Regions from separate parts of the Homo sapiens genome. Here all the other regions are linked to region 1. The links are contacts of gene promoters, found by promoter capture Hi-C in human tissues and cell types (Jung and others, 2019). All regions are on one chromosome and are shown on one strand. Each heading gives the region's core, a stretch centred on a gene start or on the middle of the fragment in contact. The rest is flanking DNA. Distances are from core to core; before and after follow the strand shown. Region 1 holds the start of ENHO (energy homeostasis associated). Region 2 overlaps NUDT2 (nudix hydrolase 2). Region 3 overlaps KIF24 (kinesin family member 24).

What was found. Contacts are between HindIII fragments. The study calls those that stand out against the background at their distance.
Region 2: a fragment that was not itself captured here is called in contact with the fragment with the promoter of ENHO in region 1 in 4 of the 25 tissues and cell types used here (IMR-90 fibroblasts, dorsolateral prefrontal cortex, hippocampus and 1 more).
Region 3: a fragment that was not itself captured here is called in contact with the fragment with the promoter of ENHO in region 1 in 2 of the 25 tissues and cell types used here (mesenchymal stem cells and mesendoderm cells).

The regions. Positions count from the first base shown.
Region 1 is chr9:34,521,725-34,525,517 of GRCh38, forward strand. ENHO (energy homeostasis associated) reads right to left here and starts at 1,266. Exons shown (of 2, transcript NM_198573.3): 1 at 1,053-1,266; 2 at 1-132. RefSeq lists an enhancer at 10-562 and silencers at 1,192-1,301, 1,322-1,691. The HindIII fragment of the contact is 6,325 bases long and covers 1-3,793 here.
Region 2 is chr9:34,338,217-34,342,008 of GRCh38, forward strand. It overlaps NUDT2 (nudix hydrolase 2), which reads left to right. Exons shown (of 5, transcript NM_001161.5): 3 at 497-631; 4 at 808-950. The coding sequence starts at 824. Among named protein-coding and RNA genes, the nearest start is that of NUDT2, 11 kb to the left of the region's middle. The HindIII fragment of the contact is 7,642 bases long and covers 1-3,792 here.
Region 3 is chr9:34,294,172-34,298,208 of GRCh38, forward strand. KIF24 (kinesin family member 24) reads right to left here. Exons shown (of 13, transcript NM_194313.4): 4 at 2,846-2,943. Among named protein-coding and RNA genes, the nearest start is that of KIF24, 33 kb to the right of the region's middle. The HindIII fragment of the contact is 6,110 bases long and covers 1-4,037 here.

The DNA.
Region 1 (3,793 bases), core at 16-2,515:
CAGTGGAGCTGCCTCAATGGTGAGGCCCATGCCGAGGCAGGACTCTGGTATGGCCGGCCTTCAGAGGAGGCTGTGCTGTCTGCACGCTCAGTGATTCCTGGGCAGTGGAGATGTCTACCTGCAGTCCTGAGCCTGTTGGGGGTATACAGTAAAGGAGAGGGTGGTGAGGAGGAAGGGTGGGGTGAGGCCTAGGAGGAGAGAGGTAGGGAAGAGAGCCTCCCTCCCACATTTCTGGCCTCCCTGGTGAAAGACCTTGGGTCCCAACAGGCTCGAATACCCCACAGAGCCATCACCCCCATCCACAGGCTTGGTTCTGGCCACCTGAATGAGTGTGTAGCCACCGTGGGGAAGCTGCAGTAGGCAGCCGTCATCTCATTCTCCTTAGACCTGGTGGGCATGCCCTGGTCCTGCCCACCAAGCTTGCAGCCCTCAAAAGCCCTCTGTTGGTGGGTGGGATCCAGGAAGCCCCCAGCCCAAAAGGATGGGGGTTGTAAGCAGCTCTGGTGTGGCCTGGGCGCCTCCTCTCTCCCAGGACTCCAGCCAGCCCGACCAGGAGACCTCCAGAGGCGCCAGCTTGCACAGAGGGAACTTTGTGGAGGCCCTGGCAGGCATGTGCAGGCTCTGTGCGTCCAGGGCTGTGTGCCTCTATGTGGGGCTGCCTCTCTGGGTCAGGTGTGTGTGTGTGTCTGGTGTCTCACTGTCCCTCCGTTGGATGTGTGCCTGTGCCTCTGCACACCCACCTCTGTGTGTGTGGCTGCCTCTCCGTGTGTCCCCATCTCTGAGTATGTCTCCTCTATGTCTCATTTCTCTACCAGTGTGTCTCTGTGTATCTCTGCATCAGTCTCTGTGTCTCTCTCTCTCTTCCAGGCTGTATCCCCCTCTGTTCCCATGGACGTGTCCCTATCCCCTTCTCCGTGGGGTCTTTTCGGTGGTTCCTGTGTCTCTGTCTTTGTGTTCGTCTCTCTCCGCGGCAGTGTGTCTCTGTCTCTTTATCTCCATCTTCGGGTCGCGTGTTCTTGGCCCCCGTGCCCGTGGCGGGAGGCCCTTCTTACCTGAGTTGAGCCTGGTGCGCGCCCGCGGGAGGGTCCGGGGCAGCGGGATGCTCGGCGCCGACTAAGGCTTGGGAGCCTGCGGGCGGGGGGCGGCGGGAGGTGGGAGACCAGCAGAGGCGACGTCCGCTCCCCCGGCCCTCCCCCTCGGCCGCGCAGCCTCCACCGGCCGCTCCCGCCGCGGCGCGACCGGGGCGGCCTCTGCCGCGGGCGGTCTGCGGTGAGCGGGCACCTCCTCCCCTTGGGGCCGCACCTCCTCCGCGGCCGCGGCGCTCGCTCGCTCGGCAGCGCTCGGGCGGCGGCGGCGGGAGCTGCGCGGTGTTCGGCTGGGCTCGGCTGCGTTCGGTTGGGCTCGGCTGGGCTCGGCTACGTTCGGCTGGGCTCGGCCGGGCTCGGCGGCCAGCAAAAACAGCGAAGAGCCTCGCCTCCTGGGAGGCCGGCGGCCTGCGGCCCGGGGGCGGAGCCATCCCAGCGCCGCTGCCGCCACTCAATTGGCTGGCCGAACCCCGGTTCCCGCACCATTGGTGGTGCGCTGAGGTGGGGACCAGCCCGCCTCTCGTGCCGGCGCGGGGCGGGAGGAGGGCCGAAGGAGTAGCTGGCCCTGGATCCTTCCCGGGAGAGGGGATGGGGTGGGGGCAAGGCCTAACCTCTGGTAGGGATTTCTTGCACCTTCTACACCTGGAAGGGTTGTACACCCCACATCCGAGAAAGGCCAAGGCCTCTGCATTTCCACATGTGAGGAAACCACCCCTCTGTATCTGGGAGAGGTCTCTTAAGTAAGTCATCCGGAGGAAGGCCCCGCGTCCCCACACCTGGCAGGAGACTGAATCTCCTCACCTAGGGAACCGCCTATAGTGCAGTCCCGCACTTCCCTCTGCCACCTGGGTGTGGACTCTGCATTCCCACTTTAGAGGGCCCCAGGTTCCCTGGCCCTAAGAGGTGTGAAAATCTCTGGCAACACAGGTTCTTTGGACACATTTACTGAGTTCCTACCCAGTGTTGGTCGCAGGCTTGCTGCCAGGCTGTTGGGGAGTCTGGGACAGAAATGGAGTGTCCTGAGCGATGGTTCTGCCCTGGCTGGAATAGGTGCAGGCGTGGTGGAAATCCTGCCTTGCCATCCTAAAAGCTCCCCTAAGAAGAAGATAGCTTGGACAGGAGCAGTGAGGTAGACCTTGTCCTCCCCGACCTTCACAGGCCAGTGATTGTCACCTATTCTGATCCGGCCGTCTTCTCATCCCGCTCTACATGCTCTCCTTGGAGGATCACATCCCTGAAGCTATATCATGAAGACTCCCAGTGCTCCCAAGTCTAGCCTTAACTTCTCTCTGGAATCCTAGACTCATATAACTAAGTGCCTACTGTAATCGGGGCAGTATTGATTCCTGGTTCACTTACTAACTTTGTGATCTTGAGCAAGTTACTAAATCTCTCTTAGCCTCAGCTTCCTCATCTGTAAAATGGTTGTAATGCTACCTCTCAGGGTTGTTATTCACTAATTTATAGCAGATCGATCACATCTCAGCAAATGCCAGCTGACACAACCCCCAGGACCATGTGACTAAGAGGCCCCTTCCCCCAATCCAATGCCATGAAATTCACATAAGACCCCTGTAAATCCAGATGCTATCTTGAAAGAAGAAAGGGAAGACTGAGTCATCCAAAGCTACCAAAGTACTTAGAGACTGTCTAAAATAAATTATTGGATCCTATAGAGTTTACCAGAGTGGATTACTTTTAGCTCCCCCCCACTGCCCATTACCCAGCAGGGTGAGGGCATTGTGAGAAAGATCAGCCTAGTTATAGGAAACAGAGGAGACTTAAATCATCGCACATCTGAGTGTAATGTGAGCGAATTTTGTGACCCAGCTGCAGGAGTTCAGATTTTATCCTGAAAACAGTGGGGAGCCACTGAAGAATTTTTGAGCAGAAGAGTAATGCGATCATATCCAGAAATTAGTAGGATGATTTGGGCTATGGTGTGGAATGGGGGCTTGAAAGCATTTGAGAGTGAAGGCAAGGATTAATAATAAGGGACTGAAATGATGGAAGGAAAAAGTTGTAGAGAGAAAAGGAGAGCATTGAGGATATTTGGGAGCTGCTGCTGGTGGGACTTAGAGAACTAGAGGATAGGGGAGGTAAGCAGGAAGGAAAAGTCTGGGATGACTCCCGGGTTAGTGACGAGGGATGCTGTGATGCCATTTACTGAATACACAGGTTCAGGAGAGAGGTCCAGGCTAAAGATAATATTTTGTGAGTTGTCAGCAAAAGAATGGTAGTTAAATGAGAAAAATAGATGAGCTCACCCAGGGAGAGAGATAACTAGTTTAAGCAAAAAGATAAATTTATAATCAGATACGGAAACCTAAGGGCAAGGATGACTCAGGAACAACTGAAACTAAGAGATCAAAAGCCACCCAGAAGAGTTCTCTCTCTACCTCTCAACTCTGTTACTTTCTGCCTGCCTCCATTTCCCTCCCCTGTCCCAAGTCCCTGTCCTCCCCATCCCCAGACTGACTTCCAATATGCTTCTAGACCACATGGTAAAAAACGGGACTTCAGACAATTCTAAAGTTTTAAAGCTTGTTGTGTAGGCATCCAAAGAGACTGGCTGCTGCCAGCTCCTCCTCATCCTCCTCATCCTCCTCCTTTCTTTTTTTTTTTTTTTTTTGGTTTGCAAAATTTTCAGGAAATATTTTGATTCAACTTAGATGCTTACCTTTGGACTAATCAATGGTGGTCAAGGG
Region 2 (3,792 bases), core at 1,189-3,688, 180 kb before region 1:
GCATGGTGGCTCATGTCTATAATCCCAACACATTGGGAGGCTGAGGTAGGTGGATCACTTCAGCCCAGAAGTTCAGGATCAGCCTGGGCAATATAGTGAGACCCTGTCTCTAAAAAAAAAAAAAAAAAAAAAAAAAAAAAATTGGCCAGGCATGGTGGTGGCATGCCTGTAGTCCCAGCTACTTGAGAGGTTGAGGTGGGAGGTTTGCTTGAGCCTGGGAGGTCAAGGCTGCAGTGAGCCATGATCACACCATTGCACTCCAGCCTGGTCAACAGTGCTAGACCCTGTCTCAAAAAAAAAAAAAAACTCAACGAAATATTTTTTTCTATATGAAGTTACTCTCTGTAGATGACCTCTCTGCATTGTCAGAAACCACACTGCTGGGGGGTTCTGTGCTTCAGGGGCTCAGGATATGGGCTGGGGGAAATGGGGTTACAGGTTTGACGATAAAACTTGTACTGCCTCTCTCCCATTCCCAACATCTCTCTTGTTTCAGTGCGTTTGCTTCTGAGGATCTCCAGTGTCACAACAAACACATGCCAGCCCTGTTTTACAGGGAGCCCTGGAGGAGTTGGGATAGAGGCCACATTGACTGAGGGTAGTTGCCAGGGTCCTGCAGTTATACACAAAGGTCAGTCTCTGATTCCTGGATGCCTTCCATTGGTCCTGGGCATGCTGCCTTTTTCTGTGGGCTATGAGATCACAGTTAGCTAGTCTGCATTACTGTCCATCACCAGATTGCTACCCCCCAGTATGGAGCTTCCTATTTTGTGTAACTTCCCAATATTCTGTATCTTCTTTGTTAAGTCCTTAGGATAAGACCATGGCCTTGAGAGCATGTGGCTTGATCATCTTCCGAAGATGCCTCATTCCCAAAGTGGACAACAATGCAATTGAGTTTTTACTGCTGCAGGCATCAGATGGCATTCATCACTGGACTCCTCCCAAAGGTAGAGGCCAGAGGGGCCAGCTCTTGGGAAACTGCCAACCACTGCTCAGAAATCTACCCTGCCAGGCCCTCCCCAAGGCTTAATTCCCAGTGACTGTGTAGCAAAAAGGGGTAGGGAAGGTAGGAGCTCTTGACCCTTTCTACATACAAGGTCTCCAGACCAGGCCAGAGTAGAGCTGAGAATTCTGTGACTGAATTCCAGGGTAGAAACAGCACCTGGTGTTTTTATGAGTATCATTCGCCAGCTCTCCAACCTCTGTGGTGAATGGCTGGGTAAGAGAAAAAACAGTGGGCAGGGAATTGGGGACCTTGAGGTTGACTGAGCTATGTGCCCACCTCTCAGCTTTGAGTTTTTCATCTGTCAAACAAGGGCTTGACTAGAAAATCCTGTTTTCAGCCAGGCACAGTGGCACACGCCTATAATCCCAGCACTTTTGGAGGTCGAGGTGGGCAGATTGCTTGAGCCCAGGAGCTCGAGACCAGCCTGGGCAAAATGGCAAAACCATGTCTCTACAAAAAATACAAAAATTAGCCAGGTGTGGTGGTGCACACCTGTAGTCCCAGCTACTCAGGAGGCTGAGGTTAGAGAATAACTTGAGCTCGAGAGATCAAAGCTGCAGTGAGCCGAGATTGTGCCACAGCACTCCAGCCTGGACAACAGAGCCTGTCTCAAAAAAAAGAAAATCCTAAGTTTTCTTCCAGCCTGTCTCTGATTTCATTTGATCAATTTCCTTTGACTCCTAGTTCAGTGTCCCTATCATTAGGTTTTTCTTTTCTTTTTTTTTTTGAGACAAAGTCTCGCTTTGTCGCCCAGGCTGGAGAGCAGTGGGGCAATCTCAGCTCACTGCAACCTCCATCTCCCAGGTTCAAGCAATTCTCCTGCTTCAGCCTCCTGAGTAGCTGGGATTACAGGCGCCCACCACCACGCCTGGCTAATTTTTTGTATTTTTAGTAGAGACGGGGTTTCACCATGTTGGCCAGGCTGGTGTCAAACTCCTGACCTCAGGTGATCTGCCCGTCTGAGCCTCCCAAAGTGCTGGGATTACAGGCGTGAGCCACCGCACCCAGCCAGGTTTTTCTTTTGAACTAAACACAGAGAGTATGAGTTCTACAGTGTTTCTGAACATAGTTGTATTTTGAGTTGGAGCATAGAGAAGTTGGGCTCCCTGATCATAGATTCATCTGCAGATTGTGGCAGGAGTGGAGGAGTGAGGAGATGGGCAGGGCCTTCTTAGACCAGGAGGGGATGGGCAGGGCCTTCTTAGACTGTAAAGATTATGGAGACCTTGAGATTGCAGCTTGACCAGCTAGCTACCTGTGCCTTGAGTCTATCACTCAGCACTGAGGGTGGAGTCGGGCAAGTCTCCAGTGGGAAGAACAGTGAAGACTACTGGCCTGAGGCCTTAGGCCAGGCCAAGATCTGTTTGTAAGCTGGCCAGTTTTCATCCACCAGCACTCCTGACCTCACCTCTAAGAGTAAGAAAGCTGCAGTCATTTGGTCCTGAAAGAGAAGCCAGGCTGTGTGGGGAGAAATGGGAAAAAGGAGCCCTTCTTGGCTGAGGCCATTGGGATGGTTTGAGTTGGGAGGGACAGACTGTGGCTCAGGTGCCTGCTGGAATGAGGAATAGCCCTCAGACAGAAGGAAGCAGGGACTTTATTTTTTAAATTATTTTGTTATTATTATTACTATTTTATAGAGACAGGGTCTTACTATATTGCCCAGGCTGGTCTTGAACTCCTGGGCTCAAGTGATCTGCCCACTTGGTCTCCCAAAGTGCTGGGATTATAGGCATGAGCCACCACGCCTGGCCAGAAGCGGGGACTTTAAAAGGGAGTGGGGTTAGAAGGGATGGACAAAGATCCAGGATTGAAGGAAAACAAGGAAATGGGAACAGGAAATAAATTTTGCATGTTTGAGTTGTACTGGGGAGAAACAAGGTGAAAAAAGAGGCAGAAGCTTCACAAATACTATGAATAGGAATATTCACACTTGTCTCCGGATCACATGAGTCACACTGCCTTGTTCCTCTCACTACCTGATGTCAGTGGACCTCTCCTAATCCTTTCCTGCTTCGGCAGAAGCTACCCTGTTAATTAACACTGATGGACAGAATACTGAATAGATGCCCCTGGGAGGGGTGTGCTCAGGGACTTCCATACACCTCTGAGGGGAGGTAGGACGTCCTGAGTCAGTATCACCCATCACTACTAGCATCCCTCCCACCTTGCTCCCCTGATGCATTACCTGTCTGTCTTTGTGTACACCACTATAGGAGGTGCTTGTGCAGAGAAAATTCCCCAGAAGCTATAAGCTAGAATGGTTTTTAAGTGCTAAGTTTCTGGGGGTTTTGTTTGTTTGTTTGAGACGGAGTCTCGCTCTGTTGCCCAAACTGGAGTACAATGGCACAATCTTGGCTCGCTGCAACCTCCGCCTCCTGGGCTCAAGTGATTCTCCTGCCTCAGCCTCCCGAGTAGCTGGGATTACAGATGTCCACTGCCACGCCCAGCTCATTTTTGTATTTTTAGTAGAGACAGGGTTTCACCATGTTGGCCAGGCTGGTCTCAAACTCCTGACCTCAGATGATCCACCCGCCTCGGCCTCCCAGAGTGTTGGGATTACAGGCATGAGCCACCGCCCCTGGACCCTGGGGAGTTTTTTGTGCAGCAGCTGGCTCTGGGCATTGTAGACCCCTGGGAAGGATGAGGGCCCCCATCTCCAAACCAAGGAGAGAACAACTGAGTTCCTGCTCGCCATGAGCCTGTGAGCAGGAGGCCTCCCTAGAAACTTACTGGAGCCAAGGTGTAGACAGAGTCTGCCAGACCGTTCCCAGTCTTTGCCCCCT
Region 3 (4,037 bases), core at 47-2,546, 230 kb before region 1:
CTTGAACTCCTGGCTCAAATGATTCTCCCATCTCGGCCTCCCACAGTGTGAAATTACAAGCGTGAACCACTGTGCCCGACTGACACTTTCTTATAAATATAAACCTATCCTATGAGCCAGCAATTCCATTTCTAGGTTGTTACCCAAAGTAAATGAAAACATGCTCATAAAAAAAATTATACAAGAATGTTCTGGCCATCATGGAGAAACCCCATCTCTACTAAAAAATAAAAAATTAGCCGGGTGTGGGATTACAATCCCAGCTACTTGGGAGGCTGAGGCAGGAGAATCACTTGAACCCGGGAAGCAGAGGTTGCGGTGAGCTGAGATCGCACCATTGCACTCCAGCCTGGGCAACAAGAGTGAAACTCCGTCTCAAAAAAAAAAGAATGTTCATACTTTATTCATAAAGTCCAAAGCCGGAAACAATGCAAATATCTGTCAACAGGAGAATAGACAAAACAAAGTGTGATAATTTCATAGAAGGGAATATTACTCAGCAATGAAAACCACAGATACGTGTAACAACATGTACTAATATAAAACACCATTATGCTAAGCAAACATTATGTTAAGCATATAAGTATAATGATTCTATCTCTATGATATTGTAGAACAGATAAAACTAATCTATACTGACAGAAAGTAAGTCAGTGGTTACCTAAGACCTGGGGGTGAGGGTGGAGGATTAACTAAATAGGGACACAAGAGAACTTTCTGGGGTGATGAAAATGTTCCATGTCTTGTTACAGATATTTGTTACTCACGTATATAAAACTCTCAAAACTCATCAAATGTGAATACTTAAGATCTGTGCATCTTATTGTATGTAAATTATCCCTCAATTTTTAAAAAGTTGTTTGAAAAAACAGTCAAAATTCTCTGGAATCAGCAACACTAGCAGGCTACTTGGCATTTTCTATCATACATGCCTACAATTTTAATAGATAGGTAGGTAGATAGGTAGGTAGGTAGATTAGATAGGTAGGTAGATAGCTAGGTAGGTGGATTGGATGGATGGATAGACAGACAGACAGACAGACAGACAGACAGACAGAGGCAGGGTCTTGCTCTGTTGCCCAGGCTGGAGTACAGTGCAAGACCACAGCTCCTACAGCCTTGACCTCCTGGGCTCAAGCAATCCTCCCACCTCAGCCTCCCAAGTAGCTGGGACCACAGGTGCACATCACCATGCCTGGCTAATTAAAAAAAAAAATTTTATAGACCAGGCATGGTGGCTCACACCTATAATCCTAGCACTTTGGGAGACTGAAGCAGGAGGATTGCTTGAGCCCAGAAATTCAAGACTAGCCTGGGTAACATGGCAAAACCCCATCTCTAAAAAAATACAGAAATATTAGCTGGGCGTGGTGGCAGGCACCTGCAGTCCCAGCTACTCAGGAGGCTGAGATGGGAGGATTGCTTGAACCTGAGAGGCAGAAGTTGCAGTGAGCCAAGATTGCACCACTGCACTTTGGCCTGGGTGACAGAGTGAGACCCTGTCTCAAAAATATAAAATAAAATAAAATAAATATTTTTTGGTGTGTGTGGAGATAGGGTCTCCTTATGTTGCCCAGACTGGTCTCAAACTCTTGGGCTCAAGCTATCCTCCTGTCTTGGCCTCCCAAAGTGCTTGGATTACAGGTGCAAGCCACCACATGTGGCCCATGCCTATATTTTAAATACTTATGCAACAGAGGCCCTTACTATCATTCCTGTCCCATTCAACGTTTATTAAGTGTGAATAATAACTTAAAAATACATCTGGCCGGGCGCGATGGCTCACACCTGTAATCCCAGCACTTTGGGAGGCCGAGGCGGGCGGATCACGAGGTCAGGAGATCGAGACCATCCTGACTAACACAGTGAAACCCCGTCTCTACTAAAAATACAAAAAATTAGCCAGGCATGGTGGTGGGCGCCTGTAGTCCCAGCTACTCAGGAGGCTGAGGCAGGAGAATGGCGTGAACCCGGGAGGCAGAGCTTGCAGTGCACCGAGGTGGCGCCACTGCACTCCAGCCTGGGCGACAGAGTGAGACTCTGTCTCAAAAAAAAAAAAAAAAACATCTATGAGGCCGGGCGTGGTGGCTCACGCCTGTAATCCCAGTACTTTGGGAGGCCGAGGCGGGCGGATCACGAGGTCAGGAGATGGAGACCATCCTGGCTAACACGGTGAAACCCCATCTCTACTAAAAATACAAAAAAATTAGCCGGGCGTGGTGGCGGGCGCCTGTAGTCCCAGCTACTTGGGAGGCTGAGGCAGGCTGAGGTAGGAGAATGGCGTGAATGTGGGAGGCAGAGCTTGCAGTGAGCTGAGATCACGCCACTGCACTCCAGCCTGGGCGACAGAGCAAGACTCCATCTCAAAAAAAAAAAAAATACATCTATGAAAAATTGATAAGTGATATTCACTTATCTATCTGATTCCAAAGAAAAAATTAACTAAACTATAGCCAGAATACATAATTCCTATCATCAAAGTTCAGACTAACTCCAACCACCTGAACCTTTTTCTTCTGAGGACTTTGATGGGATAATATTGTTAAAAGCTTAATTTTTCTTTTTTTTTTAACACCCTTTCACTATCTATCACAATATATTTTTCCACTAGACACAGAGAAATAATATCATCAATGTAAGAGGAAATTTTACTGCAAATTTCTAAATCCTTGGTAAATCCTATAGAGATACTGCATGTTTTCAGAAGAATCTAAATTTATTAGCTCAAAACACAAATTCATGTTTAAGTCAAAAGTACTGAAAAGCATGTGATATTTATAAAGAAATATGGCCTAATGGAAAATAGAAAATAAAAAGCAAAAAAAGCAAATAATCATTATCGTACCCATTGAAAATATGCTGAATAAGTGGGTGAGTAGTCTTCATGTATACATCCTGATTGGTGCACGCCTCACCAAAGACTTCATCAAAATAAAAAACATGCTGAAAAATAAATTTGATTTTATGGAAAGAGACACATTCTGGATTTTCTTAATCACTATTCTAGTTAACAGATGATAAATGCCAAAATATGTCTTTAAGTAACAGTAACTGACCATATCAAACTTAGAGGTAAATAAGCAATCACTATTAAATGACAGGGCCTCCTCTTACTTGAGATCTCTGTAGACATGTTCTTACAAGGTAAAAACTAAGGCATACATTTTTTGTTTTCTCTTAAGAGAAGTAAATTGATAAACACAAGAGTGAGTCAATCCTCCTTAGGTCTAGGAGAGAAAGTGAATTCTATGGGGATTATCCTCGTATTCCAACTAAAGCTAGTATATTTAGAATTTTGGAGGAATTTGTGATCTGGCGCAGTGGCTCACGCCTGTAATCCCAACATTTTGGGAGGCCGAGGCCAGCAGATCACAAGGTCAGGAGATCGAGACCATCCTGGCTAACACGGTGAAACCCCATCTCTACTAAAAATACAAAAATTTAGCCGGGCATGGTGGTGGGCACTTGTAATCCCAGCTACTCGGGAGGCTGAGGCAGGAGAATGGCGTGAACCCAGGAGGTGGAGCTTGCAGTGAGCCGAGATGGCACCACTGCACTCCAGCCTGAGTGACAGAGCGAGATTCCATTTAAAAAAAAAAAAAAAGAATTTTGGAGGAATTCTAGGGGAAGATCTCAATTCTGTAGATTACACAGCTTAACTTTTAATTCCATAAATATTTATGCTCAGCTGGTAGCACATACATTGCAGTAGGCACTTGAAGGGGCCCAAGGATATAGACATTACCCTAGCATTTCCCTATCTTACCTCCTAAAAATGTTAATCTACACAAGTATGCAAATGACTGGAAGGTAGAAGAATCTTAAGATAAAGTACGTGTCGATTTCAAAGGAAAACATATTCTCTCTGATTATGAAAAAGACTATACTGAGAATGGACCACAGGGGAAGAAGAGGAATTTGAAAGGGAGTGATGGAAGGGGGGAAGGTATTCCAGGCACAGGGGAAGTATGAACAGAGTCAAAGCATAGAAGCACAAGGAATTAACTGTTTAATTAATTAATGTTTAGGGAATAGCA